Regions from separate parts of the Homo sapiens genome. Here region 1 is linked to region 2. Evidence: promoter capture Hi-C in 16 types of primary human blood cells and fetal thymus (Javierre and others, 2016). All regions are on one chromosome and are shown on one strand. Each heading gives the region's core, a stretch centred on a gene start or on the middle of the fragment in contact. The rest is flanking DNA. Distances are from core to core; before and after follow the strand shown.

Region 1 (6,553 bases), core at 1,690-4,189, 2.4 Mb after region 2:
GCTTAAGTGGAGAAGGGTGATGCAGAAACAGGAAGTTACAGTCTAGCAGCAGGTCAGTAGCTGTTTAAAGGAGCAGTAGGTGAACTCATCAGGCCAAAGGGACAGGGAGCATTTACTAAATTTGCACATATGTAAGAGTTTCTCTAGTGTACACATTCAGTAATGATTTCATTACTGAGCTGTCTATGGCTGTTTCTTCAACCTTATAAGATATTGCTACATTGCTCCTCAAGGTTGTGCTGCCCAAAGACAATCCTGCCAAAATAATGAAATGTTCCAGTGGTGTAAAATTTTTATCAGTATATATATAATGGTTATATATATATGTGTGTGTGTGTTTGTGTGTGTATATATATATGGTTAAAATAATATTTTTATCAAATATGTATATACAATTTATGATATAAATTATAAATTATGGTAAAATTATATATTATTATAAACATACATTATAATGTATTATATACATAATTTATATATATATAAAAACCATTTTTGAGGCACTGTTTTTCTTATCAATCCATTAGTTCTTAAACTTTAAATTTTCAGTGTCTTTTCTATATTTTTATTTATTTGTTTTCTGTGCATATTGATTAATTAGATGTGGGGAAGACTAGTTGGGTGTTTTTAAAAATAATAATTCTAAACACATAAGCAAATTGAGAAAAAAATCAGTATTCTTAGACTTTTATAAGTAAGCATATCAGGTAAAGGTTGACCCACAGTTAAACATTTTAGGTCTTTTAGAAAACTCCAAGTAAAAGTTAGATAATTTATCCCTCAGAATTAGATAAGTAATTTTGCCTGTCATGATTATAAATCTGTGCATTGAAATATTTTGACTTTTTATTTGCTAACCCAATGTGACTTGGTCCGCTTTCTAGTGCTATAACAGAATACCATACCTGGGTAATATTTATGAAGAAAAGAAGTTTATTTTGTTCAAGTTTCTGGAGACTGAAAAGTGCAAGAGCATGGTGCTGGCATCTGGCTAGGGCCCTCCTGCTGCATCATCCCATGGCAGATAGGCAGAAATGCAAGAAAGCAGACAAGACAGAGAAGGGGCCAAAATAACTAACCCACTCTCATGATACAGACCTAATTTATTCATGAGGGAAGAGCCCTTATGACCTTATTGAAAGTTCCCACCTTTTCAATGTTGCTGCATTGAGGATTAAGTTTTCAACACACAAACTTTGGGGGATGTACTAAAACCACAGCACAAGGTAACATATGTGTTAACTTACAGTGTACATTATAGAACTCTAACCATACAGGGTTCTTAGGATTTTAAGTAACAAAGTCATTGGACAAAACCACTTCATTTCTACATTTTTAAATAGCCTTACAGAAATCTAGAAAAGATAAATGCTATAATACACCTAAACGTGATAATTTTTAGCCTATTTATTTATTTATTTATTTGAGACAGAGTCTTGCACTGTTGCCTGGGTTGGAGTGCAATGGCATGATCTTGGCTCACTGCAACCTCCGTCTCCTGGGTTCATGCAGTTCTCCTGCCTCAGCCTCCCAAATAGCTGGGATTACAGGCACACACCGCCATACCTAGCTAATTTTTTGTATTTTTAGTAGAGATGAGGTTTCACTATGTTGGCCAGACTGATATCGAACTCGTGACCTTGTGATCTGCCCGCCTTGGCCTCGCAAAGTGCTAGGATTACAGGCATGAGCCACCATGCCCGACCTAGCCTCTTTATTTTTAAACAGTTTTAGATCTACAGAAAAATAGAACAAAGAATTCCAATGTAAACTTAAAAGCTTTCCATAATGTGAACACCTGAGCAGAAAAAACAAACTCAGTTTCTCTTACTATACTCTCACAACATGCTTCTGACACCATATGCAAAGGGCAAAGCAAGCAATCAATTCTACAGCAGGCCCTCGCTGGGTGTCCTCCAACCCAGCTCAATTCCCACACTCTCTACCTGGAGGTGGTGCCAGATCCCATCGGTTGAGGACTCAGTTCCACAAGACAGCCCCTAATTTCTGACAGCAATCATAAGCCCTGGGTTATTTTGCCTCTCCTTCTGACTGACTGTAAATCAGGTTTACCATATCCCCCAACTCGGGTTCAGTTAATTTACTAGAGCACTCACAGAACTCAAGGAAACATTCTCTTACATTTACCAGTTTGTTACAAAACATGTTTTAAAGGATGAAAAAAAATCAGATGAAAAGATACATAGAGCAAGGTCTAGAAGTATCCCTACTGCAGGAACTTCTGTCCCATGGAGGTGGGGTGTGCTACCCTCCAGGAACTTCACCATGTTCAGCTATCCAGGAACCCCCATTAGTCAGCTATCCAAAAGCTCTCGAAACCCTGTCATTTTGGGTATTTATGGAGACTTCATTACATAGGCAAGATTGATTAAATCATTGGCCATTGATGATCAACTTAATTTCATCCCTTCCCTTGTGGGTAGGGTGTGAGGCTGAAAGTCCCAATCCTCTAATCCTGCGTTCAGAGGCGTGTGAACAAGAGCAACTCCATCTTAAATAGGATCTGGGTAAAATGAGGCTGAAACCTAGTGGGCTGTGTTCCCAGATGGTTAAGGCATTGTAAGTCACAGGATGAGATAGGAGGTCAACACAAAATACAGGTCACAAAGACCTTGCTGATAAAACAGTTTGCAGTGAAGGAGCTGGCCAAAACCCACCAAAACCAAAATGGCAACAAGAGTGACCTCTGGTTGTTCTCACTGCTACACCCTCACCAGCGCCATGATGGTTTACAAATGCCATGGCAATGTCAGGAAGTTACCCTATATGGTCTACAAAGGGGAGGCATGAATAATCCACTCCTTGTTTAGGATATTATCAATAAACAACCGTAAAAATGAGCAATCAGCAGCCCTCAGGGCTGCTCTGTCAATAGAGTAGCGATTCTTTTATTCCTTTACTCTCTTAATAAACTTGCTTTCACTTTGCACTGCGGACTCACCCTGAATACTTTCTTGCATGAGATCCAATAACCCTCTCTTGGGGTCTGGATGGGTACCTCTTTTCTGTAACACTGCTTTGTTCTTTCCAGTGAGCAGCCCCCATCCTGAAGCTACTTAAGAGAGATGCCAGCCTAAATCAACATATTAGCATACAAAAAGATACTGGTCACATTAAAGTTTCCAACAATTTTAGTAGTTATATACCAGGAAACAGTACAAAGACCAAGTATATATTTCACAATAGCACAACATATTTCATAGCCATACTACATTTATCAAAAGTAAGAAATTAACATTGGTGCAATAGTATTAACTAAAGTTGGTTCAGAACTTACAAGTTTTCTAATGCCCTTTTTCTTTTCCAAGATTCTGTCCAGGATACCACATTACATTTAGTCATCATGTCTCCTTGGTCTCCTCCAGTCTATCTCAGTTTCTCAGACTTCCTTGTTTATAACTATCTTAAAAGTTTTGTCTATTTTCCATGACTAGTCTAAGGTTACTATGGATTTAGGGGAAAAGTTTCATAGAATTGAAGTTTGGTTTATTTTTTTCTTCCCTCATCTCCTGATAACAGGGATATCTTATCACTCATAATGTTAATTTTGAATATTTGATTAAAATGCTATTTGTTAAAATTTTCACTATAAACTACTGGATTTCCCTTTTCATATGCTATTTGATAAATGCTAGTCTTTAAATCCAACCTAATCTCAAGGGTAGGGAAATTAAGCTCCAACTCCTGGAAGGAGGAGTATCAAAGAATGTATAGACATGTATATAAAATATCACAACACTTATTAAATATTATGAGGAAGATATCTTGAAGCTATTTAACTATCTTCTTTCTTCTTAATAGTTTGTCAACTAATTTAGCATTCATCAGCAGATCTTGCTTGAAGCAATGACTATGATTTCCTAATGACTATTTTCTTTTCCCTTAATTACTTCCACATTTATTATTTGGAATTCTATAAGGAAATTTAGCCATTCTACTTCATTTATTTACTTACGTAATGTCAGTTTGGACTCATGGATACTTATGTTCTTCTTTGTGAGGCAATTCAGTATTGTTACTTTTTATTTTGCTGGCCAAAAGATTCCTGTCCCAGGCCTAGCATCAGCAATTATGCCAAGAAGCTTTACTTATTTATTTATTTTTACTGGAGAATGTTACTTAGAAACTAAGATCTAAGATCTGAGCACAAGAATGTTGCTGTGTGCCAGGCACTCTGAGCAGACAGATTTAGAAAATATATGTGTGCATATGAACACATAGATACATACACATCTATATCTACTTTTCTGTCTGTGCTTATCTACATTAATCTATGGTGTGTGTGTGTATGTGTGTGTGTGTGTGTGTATGTATAAGTGTACCAAAAATAAAATTCTAAGCACCCCTAGCTGACTCAAGCATCCCTCTCTTGGCCCAGCGGATCTCAAAGAAACCTGAAAATCTAGTTCAGGCCATGACAGAAAGAGCATGTCAGACATGTCTCATTATACTCTCCTCCTCAGCAGTTTAGATACAACTGACTAGTGTTATCATTAAATATAAGATCCTAAGACTGTCAAAACAGACTTTTTATAGCAATAAGATACCAAATTCCAACCCAACTCTCATATAGCATCACATGACAAATAACAGGCCCTGAAGGAAATCTAATTATTTTACCCCAAAATATATTTATTTGACATATTCTGAAATGGCCCTGCAAAATTGTCTCTTGTGGGTGAAATTTGCACCCTGTAGAGAATCTCCTTCTCTTACTACGTCTTTTCTTGAGAATCTGACACTATTTGAGGACTGATAAGAGACATTCACCAACTATTTTCTCTGAAGACTGCTACTTGGAAGCTTCATCTACATAACAAGAATCTTGGCTTCCACAACCTTCTTATATAAACTCAAACACTTCTTTATGCTAAATTCAACGTTTTAGTCAGGGCTTAACTCTTTTAAACAAATACCAATCAGGAAATCTTTTAATTCACGTATGATCTGGAAGCCCCACAACTTTGAGACATCCCCCCTTTCCAGGCCAAACCAGTGTGTATACCTTACATGTATTGATTTTGTCTTTGCCTGTGACTTCTATCTCCTTAAAATGTATAAAACCAAACTGTAACCCAACCACCTGGGGCACATTTTCTTAGGAACTCTGGAGGCTGTCATGGGCCATGGGCCATGGTCCTTAACCTTGGCAAAATAAACCTCTAAATTGATTGAGATCTGTTTCAGATATCTTTTAGTTAACATATGTGTTACTATGTTTACAAAATAAAATATATATACTATGTATATATATTTTTGTGTATATATATGTATATGTATATACATATATATGTATACACATAGGCATTCATACATATACATATATGTATGCATATACATATGCATGCATATATGTGTATATACCACACACACACACACACACACACACACACACACACACACACAGACATACATACTTGAATTCCTATCTTTGATTTTTACCCAGCACAATAGGATTTATTCTAACCTTGTCTCATACCTTATTTGTATTTTTTCTGACAATGAAACATTTGGCTCTAATTATACATATGTATACATTTAATCAACTCTAGTATATATAAAATAGTTTCAGAATTGAGTAAAAAAACACCAAATAAAGGATAGTGTTTGTATGTAATTCATTATATATTTATTTCTATAATATTGAATGAAACACTGATTTTCAGTTACTTGTCAGGTCCTTTTTATTTTGCCCCATTCAATGAAGTCTGCCATATATATGAGATACACTTAGATTCATTTACAACATTCTGCTTGCCATCTTGGTATTCCACAATATCATAATTTATTTTTAGTATTTTTCATAAAGTACACTCTTTGTGGTATACAATTCTGTAAGTTTAAAAAAATTATACTCATATATCTGCCATGAAATTGCCATACAGAACTGTTTCATTACCCTACAGTTCTCTTGGGCAGTCCCTTGTGAGTCAAATTCTTAGCTTCCATGCCTTCTTATCAACCACTAATTTGTTTCCCAAACTTAAGTTTTATGTTTTTTAGAATTTTGTATAAATTGAATTCTTTCACATGGAAAAATGCATTTAAGATTCGTCCATATTATTGCTTGTATCAGTTGCGTATTTCTTTTTATTGCCAAGTAGCATTTGTTGTATGTACAGTAGAGTTTCTTTATCCATTCACCTGTTAAAGGACATCTTGTTTGTTTCTTATTGGGCTGATGATTAATAAAGAATAAATCATCTTTAAATATTTGCACAAATGCCTTTTGTGCGTGAACATAACTTTTCAATTCACTGGGAAGTATGTGGGAGTGTGATTATTGATTGTATTAATATTGTATGTTTAAACATTATAATGGATCATAGATTTAACCTTTCTGTATTATTCTTTACTTTAGCAACTTCTTGTAATTATTTCAAAATTATCAGTTATAAGAAAGTAAAAAAAAAAAAAGAAACTTCCAGGTTGACTTAAAAAGTGACTGTGACCTTTTGCCTTCCTACCAAAGCTGAAAGAGTTTTTTTTTTTTTATTTTTTAGCACATTAGAAATATCATTCCATTGTATGT
Region 2 (6,519 bases), core at 263-2,762:
TCATTCTCAATAAATCCCTGCTTTCTTCTTTCCTTGCTTTGCTGGGCGTTTGGTCCAATTGTTTGTTCAAAATGCCAAGAACTTGGACGACTTGCAGTCAAGACCCTCTAATGGTAACAACAACACCGTGACAGAGCTTTTACTAAAGGGCTGAATTAAAGATTACACTATAAAAGGGGAACACTGTAAAGCTGTCAGCTAAACTAGTCTTTCCTCCACAGTTCGTGAGGAAGGAACCTAATTTATACATTCAACAAATTTATGCCAGCTGTTCTCTGATGTGCCCAAGGCAGATAAAATCTATCCATGGAGGTTTCATTTCAGTGAGAGGGAGATATACAAGAAATAAGTAAACACCTACATTGCCAACATAATTAGAGATGGAGGAGGAAAATAACAGGGTGGAACTTCTGACAGCTCTCCTGGGAAGGTCTCTGTGGAAGTGATGTATTTGAGCTGAGACCTGAAGGAAGGGAAGGAGTTGGCCGAAAAGGTAGAATAGAATTGCAGAAAGAGATCAAGGGGAGCTCTTCCCAGGGGTCCCCTGCCCTCATATTGCCTGTCTTCACTGGTGTCACCTAATCTCCTACTGCTCATAACCTGGCTACCTATCTTTCACTATCTTTCAGGACAACTCAGCCCTATGCATAGGGATGGGTTCCCCCCAAGCAGGGACTGCTTCAGAGTCCAGGCAACATCTAGTTACATCCCTGGATGATGGGTCTTGTTTGAGTGAATTGTTTTCACCACCAGACTGTGAAGGCTTCCCATTCAGGACCCTGGTGTTCATCCCCATTGTCTGGGAACTCTACCCTGTTTCTTTCTTTCTTTTCTTTTTTTTTTTTTTTTTTTGAGACAGAGTCTCGCTCTGTTGCTCAAGCTGGAGTGCAGTGGCGCGATCTCGGATCCCAGGTTCAAGTGATTCTCCTGCCTCAGCTTCCCGAGTTTCTGGGACTACAGGCGCACGCCACCACGCCCAGCTAATTTTTTTTTGTATTTTTAGTAGAGACAGGGTTTCACCACGTTGGCCAGGATGGTCTCGATCTCTTGACCTCGTGATACACCCGCCTCGGCCTCCCAAAGTGCTGGGATTACAGGCATAAGCCACCGCGCCCGGTCCCCTGTTTCTTTAATTACTGTTACTGAAAGGCATAGCCTTTGAATGAGTTATTAATCCAAAATCTTTTGTTTTCCATTCTTGCTCTAGTCACAGCTTATTTTTCCAGACCATACTGTTCTAAGCCTCAATTACATTAAGGCCAGGAGGCCACCGAAGAACTCCACATGCCACTGCACTGGCGGGTGGAGCAAGTCAAGCAGGGCAGCTCATGAACGCCCGGGAGTCCAGGAGGCCCGGGTGGGGACGCCTGGATGACGTCACTCGAGGTGGGCAGGCCCCGCGCGGGGCGTGACGTCACGCGGGCGGTCCCGTCAGCCGTGAGGTCACCTGGTGGGCGCGGCCAGGCCGAATCCCCAGTGTCGTCACGGGAGGGGGCGGGCCCAGAGCGTGTCAGTGCAGCCGAATCAAAACAAGCCGGAGACCCGCCTTTTCCCTCCGGCTCGGGAGCGTCTCGCTTGCGCCCCGGGCCCGCGGCGCCCGCGCGGCTGCGAGCCTCGGGTGGCCGCGTGCCGGCTCCAGGAAGCCGGAGAGGGCGCGGCGGCCAGGATGGCGCGGCACGGGCCGTGCGGCTAGACGGGAGCCGAGGGAACCGCCGGCTCGCGCCCTCCGTTCTTTCCCGGAGCCGGCTTCACGCAGGGCCGGGAACGGCCGTGCCTCTGGGATCCGCCTTCGCTGACGCCGGGCACCTACCTGGACGCGAGCGAGCGAGATGCCCAACCCCAAAAACAGCAAAGGCGGCCGCAAAAACAAGCGCGCCAACAGCAGCGGCGACGAGCAGGAAAATGGAGCCGGGGCCCTGGCAGCGGCGGGCGCGGCGGGAGCGGCGGCCGGGGGGGCCCTGGCGGCGGCGGCCGGTTGCGGGGCGGCGGCGGCGGGCGCGCCGGGCGCCGGAGGCGCGGCGGGCGCCGGAGGCGCGGGGACTGGCGCCGCGAACGCTGCGGCCGCCGCGGGGGCTGCGGCCGCGGGCGATGCCAAAAACGGTAAGACGGGGCTGGCGGGGCGAGCGCCAACTTCCTCCCCGACGGGGACGGCGCGGTGGCGGGGCCCTGGGTGGCGCGGGCGGTGCGTGGACAATGCGAGAGTCAGGAAGTGCTCACCCCGCCCCTCCGCCCCGCCGCGGCTGCCCCTTCGCGGTCCCCACGCCTGGCGGCGGGGACAGATCTGCGGCCCCTGCCCGGTGTCCGCGCGGGGGGCAGCCCGCGCCCCACACTCTGAGGGGCTCCCGGCTGCGGCAGCGCTGCCCTCGGGCCCAGCCTGCTGCCCGCGCTGGCACTGCCCCGCCGTGTGTGCCGGGCCGAAGGGAGGAAGGAAGGGAGGAAAGAGCCGCCCAAGTTGAGAAGAATGATCCGATTGAAAACTTAGGCACCGGTTAATTCTTCCCGGTGCTCCAAGGCCACCCGTAACCCCCGGAATGAAGGAGAGAGAGCCTCAATTCTTAGCACACCCAGGCTTGCTGCGTCGATCGCCACAGGTGAAGAGGCCTCGAGACATTTAGGGCCTCTGTGTTTGCTCTTTAATTTTTTGGCTTGCTTGAGGAAGGAAGAGAATCTGAACTTGACTTCCGTTCTCAGCCCGGAGTTAAAAAAAAAAAAAAAAAAAGAAAAGAAAGAAAAGAAAAATCATTCTCTATGTCATTGTGCTTAACATTTTCAGAAGGAAGCCTCATAATCTTAGGTAGTGCCTGAATGTTCCTTTTGAGGGGACACTTAGGAACTGGCCCAGATGTGACAGGATTTCTGTTCTCATTACAGAGCCATGGTTTTCGTTATAAGGTGCTGGGCAAACACTTACTTATTTGGACAGTTCTTTGAATTCCTCTAGTCAGGCACTTTTTCCAGGAAGACAACGTAGGTATTTTAATGAAGGGAGATTTGAATTGTTATATCTGGCTTTTAATTTATAGCGTCAGCTTTTGAAGCCATTCTTTATGTAGATCAGGCACTTTTTTGTTTTGTTTTTTTTTTTTTAGACGGAGTTTGCAATTTCGCCCAGGCTGGAGCGTAGTGGCGCAATCTCGGCTCACTGCAACCACCGTCTTCCGGTCTGAAGCGATTCTCCTGCCTCAGCCTCCCGAGTAGCTGGGATTACAGGCGCCCGCCACCACGCCCGGCTAATTTTTGTTATTTTTAGTAGAGACAGGGTTTCACCATATTGGTCAGGCTGGTCTCGAACTCCTGACCTCGTGATCCGCCCGTCTCGGCCTCCCAAAGTGCTGAGATTACAGGCGTGAGTCACCACGCCCAGCCAGATCAGGCACTTTTTAAACAGGGCACCTGCTCTTACAAGCAGCGTACAGTGCTCTGAACATAGGCGGCTGAATGTCGCCTGTTAGAACTGTAGGCCCCGTTGGCTGTGTCTCTGCAATATTGAAATAGGAAGATTTATTTATTTATTTTCAGAAACAAACTTACCCCGTTTGTGAATGTTTCAGAATACTAGTTTTGGGTAGCCTGTGTTCTTCATGTTCTTTTGTTTTTCTCCTGGCTTTAACCTTCATTTTGGTATTGATGTGGCAGAGAGAAAGGTGCTCAGACTCTGGGTAGGACAGACTCCTAGCTCAGCCATTTAGAGCTTCATCATCTTGGAAAGGTCAGTCTTCCAGAGCCTCAATTTCCTCATGTGTAAACTTGAAAAAAAATTACCCTGGCTCCCTCCTAGTGTTATTGAGAGGCTCAGAGTGCCCCTTCCCTATTATGCTCCCAGTTCTTGTTATTTTAAAGGTTACATATATAATGAGCTTAAAGTTTCTCACAAAGAGTGCATGAACAATGATGACAGCTTTCGTTTATTCATTTAAAAAAGATTACCTGCAGTGTTGCAAGTACCGTGTTCAATACTAAGGGATCCAGCGGTAATCAAGACGAGACATCCCGGTCCTCAGGGAGCTTGCATTCCTGTTCTGGTGGTGGTTTTGGTTTGCTCTGCCCACCCCCCTACCAGCTCCTTTTTTTTTTTTTTTTTGGCCTATGTGGAAGCTTCAAGTTCACAGTTTCCTTTTTTTTCTTGCTCCAAAAGATTAGTCCAATTTAAGGTGGCATGAGGAAATTTTTTTCTTAGGCTACTTGTACCTCCTAGTTTGTACATAACAAACTGGTTAAGGGGCCCCTATTATTATTCTCTGAAGTGGCAGACTCAAGTATATTTAGCAGCACAGTGTATGTGAAGAGCTGTTTCTGATTAGGAGCTTATTTTATTAAGTGAAAGGCGGGGAGAAAAAGGAATGGGCCAACATTCCCATAGTCAGGGTCAGAGGATGTAACTTATATTAGAGGAGTGAGCCAAATTTTATGATGCCTGATTCTTGTTTCTGAAGTGATGTGAAGTCTTCGTGAATGATTCACCTTAATGTGAGGAACCCCCCCTCAGTTCTGCAGTTGATGATAACTGAACTTGGATGCTGAGGACTCCTGGGTGCAAAATCAAATGCTTTTTTCTTTTCTTTTCTTTCTTTCTTTGTTTTTTTCTTTGTTATTTAAAGCTATAGTTTATAAGGTAGGGGTTTGGGAGAGGCGTTACTGGTGAATTTTTAAAGAGGAAGGGGCAAGAGATGCGTAAATTCTCAAAATCAACTAAGGACCAATATTTGGATTTTTAATGTTAAAGTTATTATCGGTAGTAGTTTTAAGTGTATTTCAATTTTTTACTTAACTGTGACATTAGATTTTGTAATTACAGAAATTACAAATCAAGTAATTATTACAAGAAAGGAGGTACTTGATATTCTTTGAAACTTGTAAATAGTTTTTCACTGTTCAAGTCAGCTATCTACATCTGCAAACATGCAAACTTAATGACTTCGCTTAAAATTAATAGTGTTTATTTGTAGTTGTTTGGAGTTTATAGAATGGTTTTGTGTCTTGTAGCTCTTGGGCAGTGCGGCCACCAGAGCAGGGCAATATTAGCTTTTAGTTGTTCAGTTTGTCAAGTGGGCATAAATAAATACTTATTCTGTAAAGGAAGATTACTAGTTACGGAGAGCTTGGGGAAGCCGCGGTATAGTTGTGGTTGGAGAAGATGAACTGGCTGCAGTTGTGCATCTTGAGTAAGTTTAATATTAATTCTTAGGATATCATACCGCTAATAAGACATTTATTAGATACTAATTTTAAGATACTAGTTTATGAGGCTTATTTTTCAGGGATTGGTGTAAAAGACCACCCCATCTTTTTCCTACATAGTAATCTGTCTGCACATACCATTTGCATTTTCATTGCAGGTATACAAGATTACCAATGGTTATATTTAGAATCTAGTTATCAAAAGGTAGATACGTAGTTTCATTCTGGTTCCATTAGGCCTCTACATTTTTATATCAGGCCTAAAAATATTTGAAACCTTGATCATAGTATATCTAGTTTTCATTGGGCCTGGATCTTAAGTACTTTTATAAATTCCTGTTATTGGATGACCATGGTTCATCACTCCACTCATTCCTTACTGCCTCTAGAACCCGTGGGCAGCAGAGTCTGCCTTAATTCATGGAACTGTTTCTAGCAGATGGAGTTCGTTTGCATAGAGATTGGCTTTCCATTTGGTGGACCTAGATTCAAATCCTGGCTTCTCAAATTACTTGTCAAATGACCTTGGGCAAGTCATTTAACTTCTCTGAGCCTTGGTTTCTGCTTTGTAAAATGGATTGTAGTACCTACCCATACAGATGTAGTAAAATATCTGTATCTATCTATTAAATATATTTAAAATAAATAGATTACATACATTAGATAGATTAGAACAGTGTCTGACTTACAGTACCAGCTTACGAAGTATTAGCTGTTTGTCTTAGATCCTGGAAATAGCCTGAGCAGAGATACACGTGCTGGAGGTTACTGGAGAGTGCTCTTGGCATCATTCCTAGTGGAGGAGGGAAGGAAGCAGGATTGGGCAGAAGCAGGAGTTGAACTGTGATGCATCTGTAACAGAGACCCCAGTTGATCCTCTCTTGGGGGAGCTCTGGAGGTGGGATGGCCTTTCTGAGTTATCTCACCTTAAATAATAGGGGCAGGGCCTTCTACACACTCCCCCAACTCCCAGTTGACTGGTCATTTGGACTTGGGCTCCCCCCAGGAAGAGAGCATGACCTTGAGGGTGGCATCTCTTTACCTGGAAACCCTTTATGGAGAGGGACTCTGCTGAGAAGCTTCAGCTCTGAGTGAAAGGAGAGCCATTCTTATTCCCCTAGCATTATGGATGTCTTCATTTAGACCACCAGTACCATTCACATAAAACACAGGTGTGGGATAAATATTTCTCACTAACAACTAAATAGGCTTTGTGGAGGAGACTGGGAATTAACCACCATTATAACAGTGTTTCCATGGGAAAACGCATTCTGAATTCCATATATCTGTTGACAAGTAGATTTTTTTTGGAGTACCACCTGTTCCCTATGCACAGGATTT

What was found. Contacts are between HindIII fragments. The CHiCAGO score rates a contact against its expected background, and 5 or more counts as called.
Region 1: a contact is called between a fragment that was not itself captured here and the fragment with the promoter of HECA in region 2, in 1 of 17 cell types (total B cells). The highest score is 7.1, in total B cells.

Annotation. Positions count from the first base shown.
Region 1 is chr6:141,488,670-141,495,222 of GRCh38, forward strand. No RefSeq gene overlaps it. Among named protein-coding and RNA genes, the nearest start is that of GJE1, 640 kb to the right of the region's middle. RefSeq lists a silencer at 1-130. The HindIII fragment of the contact is 2,324 bases long and covers 1,778-4,101 here.
Region 2 is chr6:139,133,568-139,140,086 of GRCh38, forward strand. HECA (hdc homolog, cell cycle regulator) reads left to right here and starts at 1,513. Exons shown (of 4, transcript NM_016217.3): 1 at 1,513-2,100. The coding sequence starts at 1,830. RefSeq lists enhancers at 1-26, 1,305-1,599, 2,465-2,584 and silencers at 1,305-1,494, 1,605-1,684, 2,085-2,354. The HindIII fragment of the contact is 5,734 bases long and covers 1-4,093 here.